3 separate regions of the Homo sapiens genome follow, and regions 1 and 3 are each linked to region 2. The links are contacts of gene promoters, found by promoter capture Hi-C in blood cells and fetal thymus (Javierre and others, 2016). All regions are on one chromosome and are shown on one strand. Each heading gives the region's core, a stretch centred on a gene start or on the middle of the fragment in contact. The rest is flanking DNA. Distances are from core to core; before and after follow the strand shown. Region 1 has its middle 3.4 kb from the start of TM4SF18-AS1. Region 2 holds the start of GYG1 (glycogenin 1). Region 3 overlaps TM4SF18-AS1 (TM4SF18 antisense RNA 1).

The links. Contacts are between HindIII fragments. The CHiCAGO score rates a contact against its expected background, and 5 or more counts as called.
Region 1: a fragment that was not itself captured here is called in contact with the fragment with the promoter of GYG1 in region 2 in 3 of 17 cell types (M1 macrophages, naive CD8 T cells and total CD8 T cells); the score reaches 6.3 in M1 macrophages.
Region 3: a fragment that was not itself captured here is called in contact with the fragment with the promoter of GYG1 in region 2 in 1 of 17 cell types (M2 macrophages); the score reaches 6.6 in M2 macrophages.

The regions. Positions count from the first base shown.
Region 1 is chr3:149,279,858-149,282,838 of GRCh38, reverse strand. No RefSeq gene overlaps it. Among named protein-coding and RNA genes, the nearest start is that of TM4SF18-AS1, 3.4 kb to the left of the region's middle. The HindIII fragment of the contact is 529 bases long and covers 1,002-1,530 here.
Region 2 is chr3:148,989,938-148,992,970 of GRCh38, reverse strand. GYG1 (glycogenin 1) reads right to left here and starts at 1,431. Exons shown (of 8, transcript NM_004130.4): 1 at 1,324-1,431. The coding sequence starts at 1,330. RefSeq lists silencers at 415-709, 743-1,792. The HindIII fragment of the contact is 9,660 bases long and covers 1-3,033 here.
Region 3 is chr3:149,298,192-149,301,001 of GRCh38, reverse strand. All of the region lies in intron 1 of TM4SF18-AS1 (TM4SF18 antisense RNA 1), which reads right to left. Among named protein-coding and RNA genes, the nearest start is that of TM4SF18-AS1, 15 kb to the right of the region's middle. The HindIII fragment of the contact is 875 bases long and covers 909-1,783 here.

The DNA of each region.
Region 1 (2,981 bases), core at 17-2,516, 290 kb before region 2:
GTCTTAGGGGTTGGTATTTGGGCATGTTGAATTTGACGAGTTCATTAGACTCTTGCTTCTCAAAGTGTGGTTCATGGACCTGCAGCACTGGCATCATCTGCGAGCCAGTGAGGAAATGCAGAATTTCAGACCCACCCAGACTTATAGAATACAGATTTTTCCTTTTAAAAAAATCTCCAGATGATTTTTCTGTGCATAAACATTTAAGAAGTTGCTATATTAACCATCTAAGTGGAAATGTGGCATAGATTATTGTATATACTGTTAGGCAGAGAGGTTCAAGCCAGAGACACACATTTCTGAGTTTTTGTCATGTTGGCACTATTTTAAGCCATGAAACAGATTCCCTGACCTACATCATGGACTTTAGTATCAGTGCACTCCAACTAAACCACAGGAACACATCTGTAGATGAACAAGTTGTGTTTGTTGCTTAACGCATTGAGAGAGAACATACATGATACAGAACCTTGGGGTATCTCAGAAAAAAAAAGCAGTGTTAAAAAGAACTTATTGTATGATTGGGGTTTGTGTTAGGTGATTTGTGGGGGATGTTTAAGGAAGCAGGGCTTTGCTCTGGATCAAAGGCAGTGAGAAAGTGGGGGAAATTTATGATTGGGTATCTTAATAAATGTAATCTATAAGAAAAGAAGAATGAAATAAAGCTAAAGCTATAATTGGTAAAGAGTAAAACAAAGCTAGAGCCATAAAATATAGTCAGGGAATGTGTGGTTATTTTTGAGATTTGGAGAATGTTCATGTTTCTCATGTATACTGTAAACCAAAAATAAAATTCTAAGGTCCCCCAACCATCTGAAAGGACTTCCTCCTCAGCCAAGGCTCTTTTAAAATTTTACCTGGAGACTGTTTCAGGCCTTGAAGGGCAGCGGGGGTTGGACATGCCTCATTACACCTCTCAACATTAACACCAACACAGACTTTAAGTCTGATAAGAAACATTTTTACAACCTATTGTTTCTGAAGCCTACTACCTAAAAGCTTCCTCTGTAAATAACTTGGGTCTCCACAATTCTTTATCTTAACCCAGACCTGCCTTTCTGTTGATCCAAGGTCTTTATACAAATTCAACCAATTGTCAACCAGAAAATGTTTAAATTTACTTATAGCCTGGAAGCCCCCACTCGGCATTGTCCCGCCTTTCTGACCAAACCAATGTATTTCTTAAATGTATTTGATTGATGTCTCATGCCTCCGTAAAATGGTATAAAACCAAGCTGCACCCCAACCACCTTGGGCACATGTTCTCAGGTCCTCCTAAGGGTTGTGTCACAGGCCATGGTTACTCATATTTGGTTCAGAATAAATGTCTTCAAATATTTTACGGAGTTTGACTCTTTTCATCAACAATATTCAGACATTTTCTGGAGTGGTATTGTTTTTCTTCTGGCTCCATTAGGGTCACAGAGTGGTGCTGTCTGATGTTGGTGTTCTGGGAGATTGTTTATGCCAAGGAGGAGGACACCAGGGCCTAGCTGTGAGTGCCAGGCCAGCTCCTAGTTGGGCAAAGCTTAGCCACTAGTACCAGGACAGCTCCTGGATGTTGGGGGGCTGCTTTTCTCTTTCTTACTGTTCAGTGTCTTCCCACTATTCCCTTCTGTGCCTTGCTTTGTAGGCCTCCAGTGTCTTATGTAGTCTACCCCATACTGCGAAAGCTTGTAATTTGCATAGCCTTAAACTGCGAAGGACTCAGAGCTCCAGCCCAAGTGGAACTCTCTCTGCCCCAGCTGCTAGCTGCTCTACTTATTCAAATTTTTCTAATCTAGTATATAGTTTCCCATAGAATAACCTTGATTATAAGGCAAGGAGTTTAATGGTAGGGCATCCACCAGGCTTTAAGTCCTGGATTTAAATTCTGGCAATAACATTTAGTTGTTTTGGTTAGTTGTTTAAAATCTCCAAGTTCCAGTTTCCTTATCTATAAAAGAGAACTTAATAAGCTTCCCTTTCAGAGTTGGTGGCACAATTAGAGCTAATATTTACAAAAGGGCTAAGGAAGAGCTGACTTTCAACAAATGGTGGTTATTGGTAGAAGTAATACAAAGAATAGAAATGGATCTAACAGTGACTGACATCCTCCATGGTGTCTTTAAACTCCCCATCTTGCCCCAACATCATTTATATCTAATTTATCAGCTTTGTTGGAAGATATAATTAGAGCCATATACTCTGAGAAAAACTGAGCATTTGTAGGTAATATAGAAGTCTACACACTTAAACTATTAAAGCCACTGCTATTACAGGTAGTATGAAAAGAACAGAAAATTTTATTTGGAATCCAGTAATCTATAGCTGACTACTGGCACTACAATTTGGAAATGTGCATTCTACAGCAAGTTACTTGACCTTTTGAGTTTTTGGTCTCTTATCTACAAATCAGATGTAAGGAAGGGGCAGGGGTAAGGGAGAGACTGTTGGGAAAATTACATAGGGTAATAATTTTCATTTATAAAATATTTTCTATATAGCAGAGTTTTTTACAAACAGATGTTATTATCACTAGTCCCTTATGCACATTTTTATTTGCTGTATTTATTTCTTAAACTTATTTACAGTTCTGGAATGGAAAAACCAGGAAGGAATCTAAATTTCCTCCAAGGTATTTAGCCTCACACCTTCAGGCTAAATTCAACAAAGTTTGGCTAAGTAAACTTAAATAAAGTGAGTTATGTTCTTGAGCTGTAACCAAGAATATAATCAAATGATAGTGACCAACTTTAAACACTGCTGTACCAAAAGGCTGATCTACTGAGGGCTATTCAGGGAGGAACAGAAAGGACTGGAACAATTATTTTCATCCTGACAAACAATAGTATGTAACATGACCTAGGAAAAAGTGCTTGACCCTTCACCCTTCAACAAGAAAAAAAAAATAGAAGCCAATTTTCCTAGTCACCTGTTGAGAAGAACCAAAACAACAAATATTTACCAATACCATGCTCTACCATTTTCGTTGTAGCTCT
Region 2 (3,033 bases), core at 182-2,681:
GCTGGAAGCAGTAGAAATTCCACCGAGACATGAGAGGAAGTTGTGGGTTGCCTAGTGGGCCAGCGCATCCCTCGGCTGCTGACCTGAGAGCCATCTTCACACATTTTATTAGGCCCTCTCCCACGGCAGGCCAACTACTAAGTTGTAGGAAGACCAGTTCCCCACCCCCGAAGGGCCACCAGCTTCCCAGTCACTCACACTCTAGGAAAGCTCTGAACAGTGGCACCTGTCCCTTGACAGGCCCATCAACATCCGCCTGTACTTGCTTCTATTATCTTCAGCCCATTATAACATGGGTAACATCGCTGTCAATCTGTACCAAAAATACTTAAGCTAGGCAAAATGAATGATCATCTAACTCAAATGAAGTCCAGGTTCCAGGCGATCATGGAGAAAAATGTAATAAGGTGAGCAGGATTCAAGGATTTCTGGAAGCAAGGATATGGATGATTTCCAAGATTAAATAAGGGATAGAACACAGGTTAGAACACCAGACTAGCCAACATTACAAATGACCAAGAAAGACCAATGACAGCTGGGTAGGAGTTTAATCTTCCTAAAGACGGCTGAACTCTGGGTTACACCTGCAATCTTTGTGGCAGTTCAACTGCTGTAATAACCCTGGCTATTAGCCTCAATGACACGGAAGGACCAGCTAACTCGGAGCTTCCCAGTGCTGGGGCTAACTCGTGGAGTGGCCCGGACGCCTCGCAACAAGTGAAGCCAAAGCCGGCGCCCTCCCACCAGACGGGGCTCGCGCCCGGGGACGCTAGTCCGACTCCCGGCTTCCCGCAACCCGGCCCCAAAGGCCTAAAAATAGGCTCAGCGTGGCGGCCGGGGCCGGGGCGGGCGGCGGAGGAGCCGGGCGGAGGCCGCAGTATCCCCGCCTCGGAGCCCCTGCTTCCTGGGGTTCCGGGCCGCCAGAGGCCGGGGCAGCTCCCCACGATGCCGCTGCGCCCCGGACTCCCGCCTGGAACCCCCAGGGGAACCGGCTCCCCACCCCCACACGGCCCCGCCGCAGCTGCTCCGCCCGCCGGCCCTTCGCCGTGAGAGCAAGAGGAAGGACGAGGAGACGGAAGCAGGAACGAGAGCTCCGGCCGAGGGCCCGGGCTCTGCCCGGCTGCCCCATCCCTGCACTCTGGGGGGCGGCGGGGCGGCAGCTGACGCAGGCAGAAACACGCCCGGCTGCGGCCAGCCAGCAACTTTGCGGCGGTTTCGTCCTGCCGGGAACACTCCGGGGCTGAGGGCGGAGGAGAAGGGAGGCGGCGGCTGGGCAGGAAGCCGGGGTCCCGGGGCTGGCGGCGGCGGGCTGCGCGGCGGTACCTGTCATGGTGCTGCCGGGTGCGCAGGCGGCCGGGGCAGCCTCAGGTTGGTGACTCAGAGAAGCCGGCACCGGGAGGGAGCGCGGCCAGCGAGGAGGCACGGCGGGGAACCGAGCGTCTGCCCCGTGCGCTCTTATAGCGGCCGTCACGTGGCCGCGCACGCTCTCGCTGCCGTCCGCATCCTCCCAGCTGCGCGGCCGGCAGGGGCGGTGGCCCGCGGGGCTCCGGGTCCCGCGTCTCCCTCGGCTCCTCCTCCCTCCCTCGGGGCTAGGCTGCCGCTGCGGCTGCGGCTCACCGGCGCCCCTGCTCCTACTTCCCCGGGGCGCCTGCCCTTGTCAACCGCGCGCCCCCTGTCGCCGCTAAACCTGGGAGTTAAGGGGGACTTTGGGGCTGAGTGCGGCATCAAACTCCCCAAGAAGCCAAGGGTTAGGGAACCTTAAAAAACAAGCAAACAAACCCCAGATTACTCTAGTTAAAATCGTGAGTCTGAACTGCTTGAATGAAACGTAAAATTTACGCTTTTTTTGCAGAATTTCGATCAGCCTCTATAATCATTCCTTAGTGTACTCACAATGGTTTTGTACCCTTAACCTAAAAAATATAGTGAATATTTCGTAAATGTTAAATTCTTGGAGCCATCTGCATCAATTAGGCATTTAAGTGCTTCATTTAATCCTTGTACGAACTCAGTGAGGTGTTACATATTCATTTTACAGACGAGGAGGAAACTGAGCTCAGAAAAGTTAAATTAACTTTTCTTTTCTTTTTTTTCTTGTATTTTTAGTAGAGACAGAGTTTCACCATGTTGGCCAGCCTGGTCTGGAACTCCTGGCCTCAAGTGATCTGCCAGCCTTAGCCTCCCAAAGTGCTAACTTTTCTATAGTCATATAATATAAATGGAGAAAGTAGGATTTAAACCCTGGCAGTTTGGTTACAGAATCAACCTTCCCACCCAGAAAGTCTTGGTGCCTCTTGTACACAGGGGCTCCAAAAAGGTTAGTAAATTATTGTAACTGTGGTTAGCCAATGCTAACCTGTTTCACAAATCTTGAAATGGTCAATTTGTCATTTTTCTAGGAAGTTGAGAAATAGCTTTAATGTGATCACATCCTTCTCTGCTCCCCATCCCCAGTCCAAACACAGAACAAGCCTCGGGTAGTTCAGTTCTCTGCAAACTGAAAACTGAAATTGCTCGGTAAATGTTGAATGAGTACTGCAAAGCCATTTGGAAACCAATCAGGAAGTTGACATCAGTTCAAAAAGCAAAACAGATGCTTAAGAATAAGTGATTTATTTGCAAAGGTGGTACTGCTGTCCTCAAACCAGTTATATCACTGTTTCCTCGTGTGTGGGTGTGGATCTCCTACATCAGAATCACTTGGGGGCACTGGTTAAAGCGTAGATTTTTGGGCCTAAGCCCAGACCTCCTGAATCAGAATCTTAAGGGTAGGTTTATTTTGGTGCAAAATAATTTTGAAATCCATGCATTTTTTTTTTATAATATGTATATTCTATGGACTTTTTGAAGTCGCGTCATATACTCTTGAGGTAATGAAATACTCTGTAGGCATAATCATTATATATTTTTAATATAAAAAGCTGTTCAAAATATATTATTTGAAGAAAAACAGGTTACAAAACAAAAAGAATCTTAAGGGTAGAACCTTAAAATCAGTATTTTAAATATCACCTTCCAGGAGCCTCTCTTGAG
Region 3 (2,810 bases), core at 97-2,596, 310 kb before region 2:
ACAAATATATACACCTACTATGTACCCACAAAAACTAAAAATAAATTTTTAAAAATTCCTTCTGTAAAAGTACAAAACAGCTCTTATTACAGTATGACATGTTTTTAGCATCATGATATTGGAAGTCCACTTCCAAGAAGAAAAACTACGTTTTTCAGATGAATTACCCTGTCAGCTGAAGAATCACAAGGTTCATACATTTGGAAAGGACAGCTTTATTTCTCACAAAAGGCTGCAACCTGCAGGGTGGCCATTCTGACACGCTGGGAAGTGTAACCTCTGGCCAGAAGCCAGAAACAGGCACTTCAAGGTAGTGCTGAAAGAAACGGGAATTTATGCTGAGCAGAGTGGCTGAAAATACCTTTTTATTAGGCTGTAGGAGGAGTCATGAATATTTATTAAAGGAGAAACATGTGCTTCACAATTGAGCTTTATGCCTCTTCATGAATTCCCTGTACAAAAAATTGTGGCATTAGCATGATCTGAGAGTGGAGTTTTCAGCCCCCTAATGTCAAAAGATGAAGGGGAGGACACAAATGCCCTGGCTGTGCACCCTGCATAGATTGGCCAGAACCACTTCATGGTTGTTGGTCTCTTATCAGGAAGGGATTTATGGTTTAACTGGTGAGCTGTCATGTTGAAACTGCAATGTGGGAAAGGGAGTCCTGTGGCAGCCTCAGAGGACTGGCTAAAGTTGACAAAGTAATGAGTCATCCATTTCTCATTTTCCAGAGCTGGTTTCTGCTTACTTACGCCTTAGGAAAGAATTCTGGTTAAAGGTTAGAAGGAATGGGGCATACTGAGGCATGTTCGACCTGCTAGCCCATCATGGCCAGGAACTCAGTTTCTAAGGTTTCTCTGGAGTCCCCTGGGCCAAGAGATGGTGTGTTCAGTCAGTTGGAGAAGCTTAGGACTTTATTTTTATTTCTCAACCCATATTAAAGAATTGATTCTATTAACCTCAAAAGTCAAATACTCATACATAAAGTCCTTGAAAAGGCTCATTCAGAATCACATGCTTATGCGTAAATTTCTCTGATTAAGGCTTCTTTGTTTAAAGAGCCAACATTCAAGGAAAAAGTTTTAAAACTATTCCATAATTTTTACAATTTTCTTAGTTGTCAGATTTGTATCTGCATTGTCTTCTATGATTTTTACTATAAATATAATTACATGAGAATGGAGTGTTTCTTAGAAGTGACCACTTATGATATTAGTCTCCATTTAAACATTTCTTCCCATGTGATACAAATATATTTCCATATTTATTGTGTCAGTATATTTGTTACTCTCATGAAGCAAACAGAATGCCAATTAAATGCAAATAGCAGGATTTAAGTGATTAGATGTGATGAGGAACTACTTAAATCACACATAAAGATTTGACAAATAAGAATCTAGTAAATGTTTGAAGAAAAGCAAAGGGGGTAATGATAGGTTATGTGTCTCAAAAGAATGGTTTGAATAGCATAGATTAAGAGATGCCCTTCGAAAAAGTGAAGTGCCCTCTAATATTTAGGCAAAATAACCCTATTTGTGAAGGTACTGCAAAAATCAACAGTGAAATAAAGGACTTGATATTGTGCCCCTCTTACAGCTTTGTCAACAAAAATCGTAACATTCAAATCCAAACACTTGATTTATTCCTGGTTCATTCTAAGATTTGGTAAAGACTTACAAATGTAATCAAATTTGTTTTAAATATTGGTTTGAGCCACAATAAGTGCCATTTTTAATAAATTTTACACAGTAGGGTTTAACATAATATAAGATAAAATAAGCTTATTTTCTTGATTGGTTTCATTTCTCATGATAAAATCCTAATACAATATTTTGGTTTGTTTCCAGTTTCCAATGGATTCATTTTAAATGGATATTTTTTAGTAGCAATTATCCTTGGCTATTTTGTCTACATTTGGGTTTACAAAGGCATTGGGAAGGCAAAAATGAAATCTACCAACCACTTGCAACATTGCTTCAATGGAGAAAAGTTATTGTGAGGTCCAAACGATGAATTGCAAGTAAATTTTTGCAGTCAGCCTATATTTTATTTTTTAGCTAACAGTATGCTAAAAAGTTGTGATTATGACATACTGTAAATGTTTTCAGTAGAAGCACACTCAGCACTTTGAGAGGCCAAGGCAGGAGGTTCACTTGAGGTGAGGAGTTCTCGACCAGCCTGGGCGACACAGCAAGACCTTGTCTCTATAAAAAAAATTTGAAAAGTTAACCGGGTGTGGTGGTGCATGTTTGTATTCTCAGCTACTTGGGAGGCTGAGGTGGGAGGATTGCTTGAACCCAGGAGTTCAAGGCTGCAATGAGTCATGATCGCACCACTGCACTCTCGCCTAAGTGACAGAGTAAAACTAACACTGTCTCAAAGAAAGAAAGAAACACACCAGAATGTGAATTTTCAAGTCAGTGTAGGTGTTCTCAAAGTCATCAGCCTCAGAGGTTATATAGACATTTTAACAATAGGGGCATAGTCCCTAACAGTTGTTGGGTCTCCTCTGGAATTGCCCTGGAAAATTCTGTGGCTATAATTCCTTCTACTCTTTTTTTTTTTTTTTTTTTTGGCAGAGTCATACTCTGTCACCCAGGCTGGAGTGCAGTGGTGCAATCTCAGCTCATTGCAACCTCTGCCTCCTGGGTTTAAGCAATTCTCGTGCCTCAGCCTTCCGAGGTAGCTGGGATTACAGGCATGTGGCACCATGCCCGGCTACTTTTTGTAATTTCAGTAGAGACTGGTTTTCACCATGTTGGCCAGGCTGGTCGCAAACTCCTGGCCTTAAGCCATCTGCCTGTCTCAG